Linked DNA regions of Homo sapiens: all the other regions are linked to region 2. Evidence: promoter capture Hi-C in human tissues and cell types (Jung and others, 2019). All regions are on one chromosome and are shown on one strand. Each heading gives the region's core, a stretch centred on a gene start or on the middle of the fragment in contact. The rest is flanking DNA. Distances are from core to core; before and after follow the strand shown. Region 1 has its middle 220 kb from the start of LRP12. Region 2 holds the start of ZFPM2 (zinc finger protein, FOG family member 2). Region 3 overlaps LRP12 (LDL receptor related protein 12).

Evidence for each region. Contacts are between HindIII fragments. The study calls those that stand out against the background at their distance.
Region 1: a fragment that was not itself captured here is called in contact with the fragment with the promoter of ZFPM2 in region 2 in 1 of the 25 tissues and cell types used here (heart left ventricle).
Region 3: a fragment that was not itself captured here is called in contact with the fragment with the promoter of ZFPM2 in region 2 in 1 of the 25 tissues and cell types used here (dorsolateral prefrontal cortex).

The regions. Positions count from the first base shown.
Region 1 is chr8:104,803,460-104,806,363 of GRCh38, reverse strand. No RefSeq gene overlaps it. Among named protein-coding and RNA genes, the nearest start is that of LRP12, 220 kb to the right of the region's middle. The HindIII fragment of the contact is 4,200 bases long and covers 1-2,904 here.
Region 2 is chr8:105,317,139-105,320,361 of GRCh38, reverse strand. ZFPM2 (zinc finger protein, FOG family member 2) reads right to left here and starts at 1,924. Exons shown (of 8, transcript NM_012082.4): 1 at 1,381-1,924. The coding sequence starts at 1,420. The HindIII fragment of the contact is 7,749 bases long and covers 1-3,223 here.
Region 3 is chr8:104,582,980-104,586,027 of GRCh38, reverse strand. The region is part of intron 1 of LRP12 (LDL receptor related protein 12); the gene reads left to right. Among named protein-coding and RNA genes, the nearest start is that of LRP12, 4.8 kb to the left of the region's middle. The HindIII fragment of the contact is 3,889 bases long and covers 1-3,048 here.

The DNA.
Region 1 (2,904 bases), core at 227-2,726, 510 kb after region 2:
AATGGCCATTTCCTAAAGCATATGGTTTTCTTTCACTTTCTATTTCATTGGCTTTCTAAAAGTATCTCTTTTAAAAGATACATTCTTGACTGGGCGTGGTGGCTCATGCCCATAATGGCAACACTTTGCGAGGCTGAGGTGGGCGGATTGCTTGAGCCCAGGAGTTTGAGACCAACCTGGGCAACATGGTGAAACCCTGTCTGTACAAAGAATACAAAAATTAGCTAGGCATGGTGGCGTGTGCCTGTAGTCTCAGCTACTCCAGAGGCTAAGGTGGGAGGATTGCTTGAGCCCAGGAGACAGAGGTTGCAATGAGCTGTGATCATGTCTCCACACTCCAGCCTGGGAGACAGAGCAAGACCCTGTCTCAATAAAATAATTAAAAATAAATAAAATATATGGTCTTGTGTTCAAATGCAGGGGCATGACTGGATGACCCACCATTCTCCTCATCCCTTCTGGGCTAGGTATTCTCTGTCCTTCCAGATCCTCTCTTTACCCTTCTCTGCCCTGCTCTGTGCCCCAGGACCCTGGCAGCTGTGGACCACATCAACAGGCCTCCCCTTCTCTCTGGCTTCCGCAGGGGTTTGACCATTGGGAGCCTCTGGGGTGAGATCAGAGGAGAGAGAGTTTGGGTGCTGCCTGGCCTGGCTGCTGTTCTGTGGAGCTGTGGGTGCCAGTGGCTGTCATCCTGTGGAAAAACCACAGCTCCTATCCTATAGACAGGTCTTGCCTGGTTCTACTCACAGCTGTCTCCTCTTGCTCCTTCATCCCTAGAAGTGGGAGAAGCTTCTGATGGTTTCTAACCCCAGGGTGTTTCCTCATCCATTTAACTTCCTTTGTCCCGCTCCCCCCCACCCCATACCTTTGAAAATGGTCCCTTCCTTAAACTCTTTTTAATCACCTCCTCAGTGTACCATCTGCTTCTTGCCAGGACCCCGAATGATATAGCCTCTTCTATTTATTTCATAGTTTCTCAACACTTTCAGGATATGCTGATGAGTCAACATCAGAGAGGAGATACAACTGTTTCCTGGATCTCCTAGAAGGCTTGCAAAGCAAGCAGTTAGAACTGAGGGTTAAAATGGAACCTGCAGATTATCTGAGGGTTTCAATTATCTTTGTTACCCTCATTCTATCTTGCATAGAGAATTGAGAATTGGCTGTGTCAAGACTAAGTTGACACACATCAAGAGGCTATAGAGCAGTCTATCTGCTCATTAAGAGTTTTTTACTACGTCCCACTGATCTTCCACTTCTCGCAATGCTTTTGATGTGGGTTTAATTCTAAGTTCTGACAGAGAAAGGGTCTCACATCTGCAGTCCCCAATGCAATCTTCACATGACTGTCAAAAATGCGACTATTTGTCCCCAGGCTTAAAATGCCAGCTCCAAAAAAGGTCAAGGACTCTCCCTGGGAACATCTACAACATTCAAGCATATACTTAAGATCTTCATTTTTATCTCACACTTTTCTTCAATCTAATGTCAATTTGGATATCATATTTCCATAGGCCCAATATATGCTGAGCACATTCTAAAAACAGAGAATAATAACTCAGTTCTTATTTCCTTTCTAAGACCACAAATCTACCTGCTGTGCTATAGAAACACTGATAGGCCAGATTTAAACCGAAGAAGTGTAATGAACCATTCACCTTAAGGAAAGTCACTTTTCTTTAATAATTTCTACATATAACTCTTAGAAGTATTTATTTCCATCCTTAATAGTCTATGATTTAAGGAGAAAGATGAAATAAAGTCTTTAACAAGTAATAAATAGCAAGTCTTTCCTCATTAATTATCAAGGAAATAAAAATGTTTTCCTCATGCAGCATACTTGCTCCACATGTAGCATCAATTTGCTTTTTTTTTTTTAACTTTTGGTCAAAAATATATGTCAATAATGTCTTTCATACTACATATCTTCTCATAAGTAATACAGTTCTCAATTTTCAATTGCTACAAGAATTAGAGTCTTCTCAAAATTCAGAATTTTTCTAAGCATCACTGTAATAATTAGCATTACTATCACTAATTAGTTTTTCCTAACAACAGTTCTTGAAATGGGTAACTATTTTGTATGCCCCAGAGAGGGCTGGTAACTTGGCCAAATTGTATTTTGCAATTTCACTAGAAGTTCTGAAATTTTGGTTGTCATACATATGTGCAATCCATAATTTATTTTCATCCTCTCCTTCTCATTTAAACTGTTAAGTTTGGGGTTAAAGCAAATTGTGTAATTTACTTGGCCCTAAAATGAGCTGGAATTGCACAGGACCAGCTTTTTAAATGTAGGCTTTTGGAGTCACCAAATATGGCTCAATTTCTAGTGATGCAACTAGCTATGCAACTAGTCATGCAACTAGTGTTGGTTTATAGTTACATTGTAAGGTAATTGTAAATGTACCTATTAATAAGAACACATTCATATCTTCAGAGACATAACCTTTGTGTAAAATGTATTCACATGTTCTATGCAAATGATGACTGCTATGGCTGTTATTATTTTTATGACTATTCCTTAGAAATTTTATATACAATTAACCACATCCAAGTGGGCTGATGCTCTTAAATTACATTGCCAGGTGATTAAATTTTCACTCCAAATGTGTGGAAAGGAAAAGAGCCTCACGATTCTTTTTTCTATTAAAAGATAAACTACTTAAATATTTTGTAGAAGAGGTTTGCAAAAAAAAAAAAAAAAAAAAAGAACCAAGAAGCTACAGCATTATGTAGGGCAGTGACCAGAGAATTTGGTTATAGCCCCAGCTTTGTCAATTAATAGCCTTTTAACCTTGAGCAAATCAATAAAAGCTTTTTGGACTCAGTTTCCTCCTCTGTTAAAAGAAGTTGAACTTAAATGGGCTCTGGGTTCACATCAACCTTTCAACATTATGATTC
Region 2 (3,223 bases), core at 675-3,174:
AACTGAAGTATAAGAGAAGGAATCGAAGAAATAAAAGCTAGAAAGTCATGTTTAAGTAGCAGACACACACACACACACACACACACACACACACACACACACACAAAGATCTGAATACTTAACTGTTGATAACTGTTTATAACCTGGCCCCCATTTCAAGGACAAGTTGATTGATAAGATTTATTTTTAAACTACACCAAATAGAATTTTCAACATTTGGGGGTGGGGCGAGTATGGTTAATAATCAGGGGGGAAAGGGATACTACTAAAGTCTTATCCTTAAATTACATCATAATTTGTTTAAAACTAATTGCAGACTCTGAGCAACACGGTGAAACAGACACATCATAAAGCTAGCAAAAAATAAACTAATAAGGTTTTTTCTTCTTTTCGGCCAAAGCGTTGAAGATATGTCGCAGGCCTATAAAACGCTATTGGAGGAATTCTCCCCAAGCCAAGAAAAGTTGACCGACTTGATCTCTGCGAGCGTGCCTGTTTCGGAAGGTGTCTCTTGACCCGCCGTGTCCTCTAAGCACCATCGGGACCCCCGGGCACCCGGGGGCTCAGGGCCATGCACTCCCCTGCGCGCCCACCGCCTTGAACTCACAGCTTCCGCGCTGGGAAGTGACTGGCGGCCCCTCCCAGGGAGGACTCCGCGCGCCACCAGGGCCAGACACCACCCGAATCCCCGCTCGGCTGAGCGTCCTGGCGGCGTGAGCCGGACCCGCCCGAAGTCCCAGGACACGACCTGCCAGCCACCAGCCCGCGCCCGCAGGGCAGAGACGCACGGCCGCCCGCCGCAGAGGCGCGAACTTTTACACCTACTTTTTGTTTCGCTTCGGGTTTGGTGTGGCTCTGGCACCGCCCAGGATCGGGACCCTGACGCTCTGATTTTCCACCGCGTGGGGAAGTTACCTCCCTCGCCCCGAGGTCTCGACCGCCCAGCTTTTCTGAGAAGTTTCTACCCTGGTTACTAAAAGTGGTTCCCAAGAGTAGTCCCACGTCAATCGCACAAAGCAATGACAACAACAATAATAAGCGTCTAAAGGAGCGGGACTGCCCCTCCGGCTGGACGACAGCGCCGGGGACTCGCAGCGTGCGCGGGTCGGAATTAAAAAAGCAGCCCGGGAGCGCGAGGGCTGAGCGGGGCAAGCATGGGCTGCTCCTCGCAGCCTCTCTCCTGCCCGAGGCTCGGGCTGGCCGTCTGTCTGTCTATGACTGTCTAGTTGTCCCTTCGACTGCTCAGGCAAAGTTTGAGACATCTAGGGGACCGGGAGCGGATCTCCCCTAGCCCCGCCACCCACCCACCGCTTTCCCGTCCCGCGCACCCCGCTCCTGGGCAATAATCCCACCAACTCCCGGCCCCGCGCGCAAACTTACGTTTGATCTGCCGGGGTTTGCTTTGCTTTCGCCGGGACATCTCGGCGGCGGCTGCTGCCGCTGGGGCTCCCGCGGTGCCCGCGGTCGCGGCTGCCGCTCCCTCGGCTCCCGCCGCCGCCGCCGCCGCCGCCGCCGCTGGCCAGGCTCGGCCCGCCGCCGGCCGGACTCCAGGTGCTCCGGGCGCTGGGCTCCTCCGGGAGCCGCGGATTCACGTTCGGAGATGAGCAAGCAAATGAGAGAAGAGAGACGGGGGCACAGAGAGTGTGACAGTGAGGAGGGGAGGGGGAGAGGAGAGCGACGGGGGGAGAATGGGAATGTACAAGCGAACGGTCAGGGAGAGAGAAAAGGGGAAAGAGAAGAGAAAAATAACACGGAAAGAAGGAAGAGAAGGAGGGAGGGACGGGAGAGCGAGCAGCGAGGAGAGGGGGAGCGCGGGGGCGCAGGGCGCGGGAGGAGGAGCGCGCTCGCTCGCCCCTCGCCCCGGCGTGCGGGACGGATACTCCGGCGCCGCCGCCGCCGCTCCGGGCCGCGCAGCTCCTGTTCTGCGGCGGGAGGCGGCGAGGCGCGCGAGGGAGGGGCGCGCCGGGGCTGTGGGGAGGGGAGACTATTCCATCAGCCAAAGGAGGATTGGCTGCATCCAAATCCAGTCCGGATGCAAACTACGGCCCCGGCCTTGGTCGGGCGAAGTGCGGGGGATCCAGGCGGTGGTGGGGGATGGGGGCAGGGGTGGGTGGGAGTTGGAGGGGAGGCGTGGGGACGGCTTGGAGGAGGGCCACCTTCTGCAGTTGTCACCGCGTCAACGCTGGGCAGCTGCCAGGGCACCCCGCCCCACCTCCTTCCAGGCAACTTCTTCCAACGGCCCTCTCTGAGGGACCCCAACTCTCCTCTCTCACGCCTCGCCAGTCCAGCGGGGCACAAAGAAATCTCAGTCTCTCCCTAAACTTTGTGCTTTCAGTTATGCCGCCCCCTCCCCTCACCCCCAACCCCCGCCCTCCCAGCTTCTTGGCAGGAAGGTTAGGCCACTGGCAAAGTCCTCGGCGAGAGCCAGATGATCACAAATGCCAACTGTGTGTCTTGGGGCCAGTTAAGTCCGCTCATCTGCCCAGGCTCTCAGAAGACCATTTCTTTGCTCTCAAGGCTCCCAGGAGACCGCTGCGGACACGGACCGTCCCGCTCTGGGCCCACGTGGATGAGGTGCTGAGTCGGATCCTCAACGTGTTCTGTCACCCACAGTTTCCATTTTAAATTGTAAAATATTCAAATTTGGAGACAAGCAGATATTTTTCTCATCTTGAAAAGGAGGAGCGAGCGTTAGCTAGCTGATTAGCCGTAAGTGGAAAACGAACCATCTCTAATAAAAATACTAACTTTTTGGGAAAGTCTGGGGAAGTTCTGTAGTCCCACCCTGCCCCGTGACCTTTCTATTCTCTTAGTCTTCTGCCACAGGGAAGCACCGATCGACTAATAAAAGATTTGATCTTGCTGTAATTTCCCAAGCGGGTAAGACCCAGTAACTATTTAATGGTTCTTTAGCTTCTAAAATTTTGTTTTATTCTTATTCAATTACTGTATGTGTAGTATATCGGCAACTGCAAGCCAAAAGGAGAACAAATTTTGAGGTGATTTGCATAGTTATTATTTTGGCCAAGTTAAACTGTATGAGGTTAGCTTATTTTCTTACAGTTTCATATACGGTAAGTATTAAATATATTCTCCCATGTGGGTTGGAAGGAGCTTCTATCCAAGTGCAGTGGGACTAGCTGCTTTATGTAATCAGTATTTACTAATAAACTCCACTGCAGTTCACATGAGTCCCCCAGATACTGCTGACTTTTCCCCCAGG
Region 3 (3,048 bases), core at 219-2,718, 730 kb after region 2:
TATCAGTGGTGACAACCACAAGCTTTGCTACGCATTGTCCTAGGCTTACTGTAAGAGGAAAAAGTGCTTTGTCATTTTTCACATAGGGATGTCTCGCTTTTACAAATCTATGGGAGTTTCCAAAACCTCTGTCTCCTAGTCAATAGAAGCTGTTAGTCTTGCTCACCTCCTAAACCACAATTTGGTAATTCTGACAGTTCCGTTGCTTTATCCTTTCCACTTCTGTTTGTCTCCCAGATTAGTGTTTCCTAACTTTTACTCAAACCCACCCTTAAAATACACATTGCTTCGGGTACTATGTACATAGAGAAAAAAGTTAATGAAATCGTACTCTTAACTACCTGTGCACTCAGATGTTTTCTATTTATTCCTCCTCTTTCTCACCCTTCCCTTCTTCATTTGCTGGTCTGGACTCATTAAATAAATTTTGGATCCACTAATAAATTGCAGTCCTTAGCTTGAAAAACACTACCCAAGATGAAGCCTTAAAATATAGTTTAGAGGCCAGGCGTGGTGACTCAAGCCTGTAATCCCAGCACTTTGGGAGGCTGAGGCGGGTGAGTCTCCTGAAGTCAGGAGTTTGAGACCAGCCTGGCCAACATGGCGAAACCCCGTCTCTATTAAAAATACAAAAATTAGCCAGGTGTGCTGGTACATGCCTGTAATCCCAGCTACTCAGGAGGCTGAGGCAGGAGAATCACTTGAACCAGGAAGGTGGAGGTTACAGTGAGCCAAGATTGCACGATTGTATTCTAGCCTGGGTGACGAGTGAAACTCTGTCTCAAAAAATAAATAAATAAATAAATGTAATTTAGAATGTTTCTTGTTTGTATATCATTTTACAATAAACTTCAAGAGTTGCAGATGGTTAATTTTTGGTTACTTGCTGCCAGAGCATTTGATAGTCGTAGAACTGTTCACAGCATATACTGATTGACTTGTGATAAAATTCATTTTTAAACTGGTTTTCAGCTTATTACAGTCAAGAGTCTTTACTGTTCACAGTAGTATTCTAGATGTTGTGGTAGCCTAAAATAATCTTTTTACTTTGCATATATGTAATGGATGAATCTTTTCCCATGAATTTTATGGAATGTTCAGTAGCACTTAATAACTGGTTTAAGGGTAGACAAGAAATTCCAATTTTAGAAAGGTTGTAGAAGTAACTGGAACATGAGGGAAAAATCTAAACCAGATACCAATTACTTCTTACAAAGTCAAGTTTGATTACATAAAATGTGTTGAATAAAATTGAATTAATTGCTTAACATAAACCCTTCCTTGAGTTCAGAATCTAAATTATATCCATATCCTTGGGAGAATATGAAGGTGGGCAGCACATTCCACAAAATTCTAGGTGGTTATCAGGGCAGAAAGTATTAAACAAGCACTGTTAACTGTATTCTAGATAGAGTATGGAGGAGATTTGAATGATGTATGGTAAATGATTTATAAGGTTCCTAGAAAGTAAAATTTCTTTTGAAGAACATAAAAGGGATTTTAGCCTGAAAAGTGAGCAGCAGTTAAAGAAAATGTTGAGATTTACTTTTGTAATTAGAAAATTTAAAGCTTATTAAAATATTAAGGGAACAAGAGGGCCTTTTTGTGTTTCTGATATGAGATGTTGTTCCTTTTTTTTTTCCCCACTTTACCAGTGATACCACAATTTAAGGGGTGAAAGTTCAGTAAAAATATATATGAAATATAAGTGAGAATTATATAGATTTAAGTAAACATAGAATATTTTTATTTTAGATATTAATCCTGTTCTTACTGCAAGTCTTTATAAGAAGAGGAAGGTTGTTCTAAATTTAGGAATTGGAAGTTGATGATCTCTAATTTCTAAGGTTACCTTTCTTTTCTGTTTTTCTTCTTTTCTCCTTATCACTCCCTGCTTTTTGAGAGAGTTAAGTAATAGATGTACATTATTTATTCCCATTTTCTAAAATTTAGGATTAGATCCTGCAAATACAAATTACCAATGTATCTATTCAAATACATGTTATCAGAGTCTCTTCTTTTTAAGTATATATAAATATATTATTTCAATACTGTATTAGCTTAGGGAATTCTTACTGTCTAAGTTATAGAAGGGAAGGAAGGAAACTAACATTAAATTAAGTTTAATAGCACTTATTTACTTACAAGTACTTAATACTTACATTGAAAGATGCGTGATTAGTCTTTATTTATTGCCAATTAATCTTTAGTAGGTCTTATTTGGCAATCCTGTCAGATATGTACTCTTTCTTTTGTTTTATGGAAGAGAACATTGAAACACAGAAATATTGTGACTTAACTGAAGTCAAACCAGTATGAAGTAGTAGAGTCAGGATTGTAGCCTAACCCTGGCTGTCTCTTCACTTAGTTCATTTAGCAAATATTTATTGAGCCCTTGCTTATGTCTAGCACTGTGTTAGATAAAACCTGATGCACATAGTTTCTGCCCTCATGGAGCTTATAGTCTAATGAATAAGTTGTAATAAGTGCTCTCAAAGAAACAGACATGGGGCAGAGATAGTGAGTAACAGGCACAGAGTAATTAGGGGAAGACTTTTTCATGAAGGGACGTTTATGAGACCTAAAGCATAGCTAACTGTGTTATGGTTGGGTAAGAAAGCTTTACATATGAGAACAATGCATGAAAGGCCCAGGATCAGGAAAGAGCTGGTATGTTGCAGATAAATTACTAAAAACACTGTAACTGGAACATAATGGTTGTAAGGGAGAGTGACAGGATGAGATTAGAGCAATACTTAGAAACTCTAGGATTTAGAATCCATGGTAAAGAGTTTGGGTTTTATTTTAACTATTTAAGTGACATAATGTGATTTATGTTTTGAAACAGTCACATTTGCTACTATGTGGAGTATTGTTGTGAAGTGGGAAACAGTAGAGATGGGATGATCAGTTAGGAGATTTTGGCTGTAATCCAGGTGAGAGATAACAGGAGCTTGGACCAAGGTAGTAGTAGTGGAGATAAAGGAGTGTAGGTTGCCCTGTTGATAGAGATAAGGGGATTTTTCCTCTTGCCGTAAGAGGTAAAGA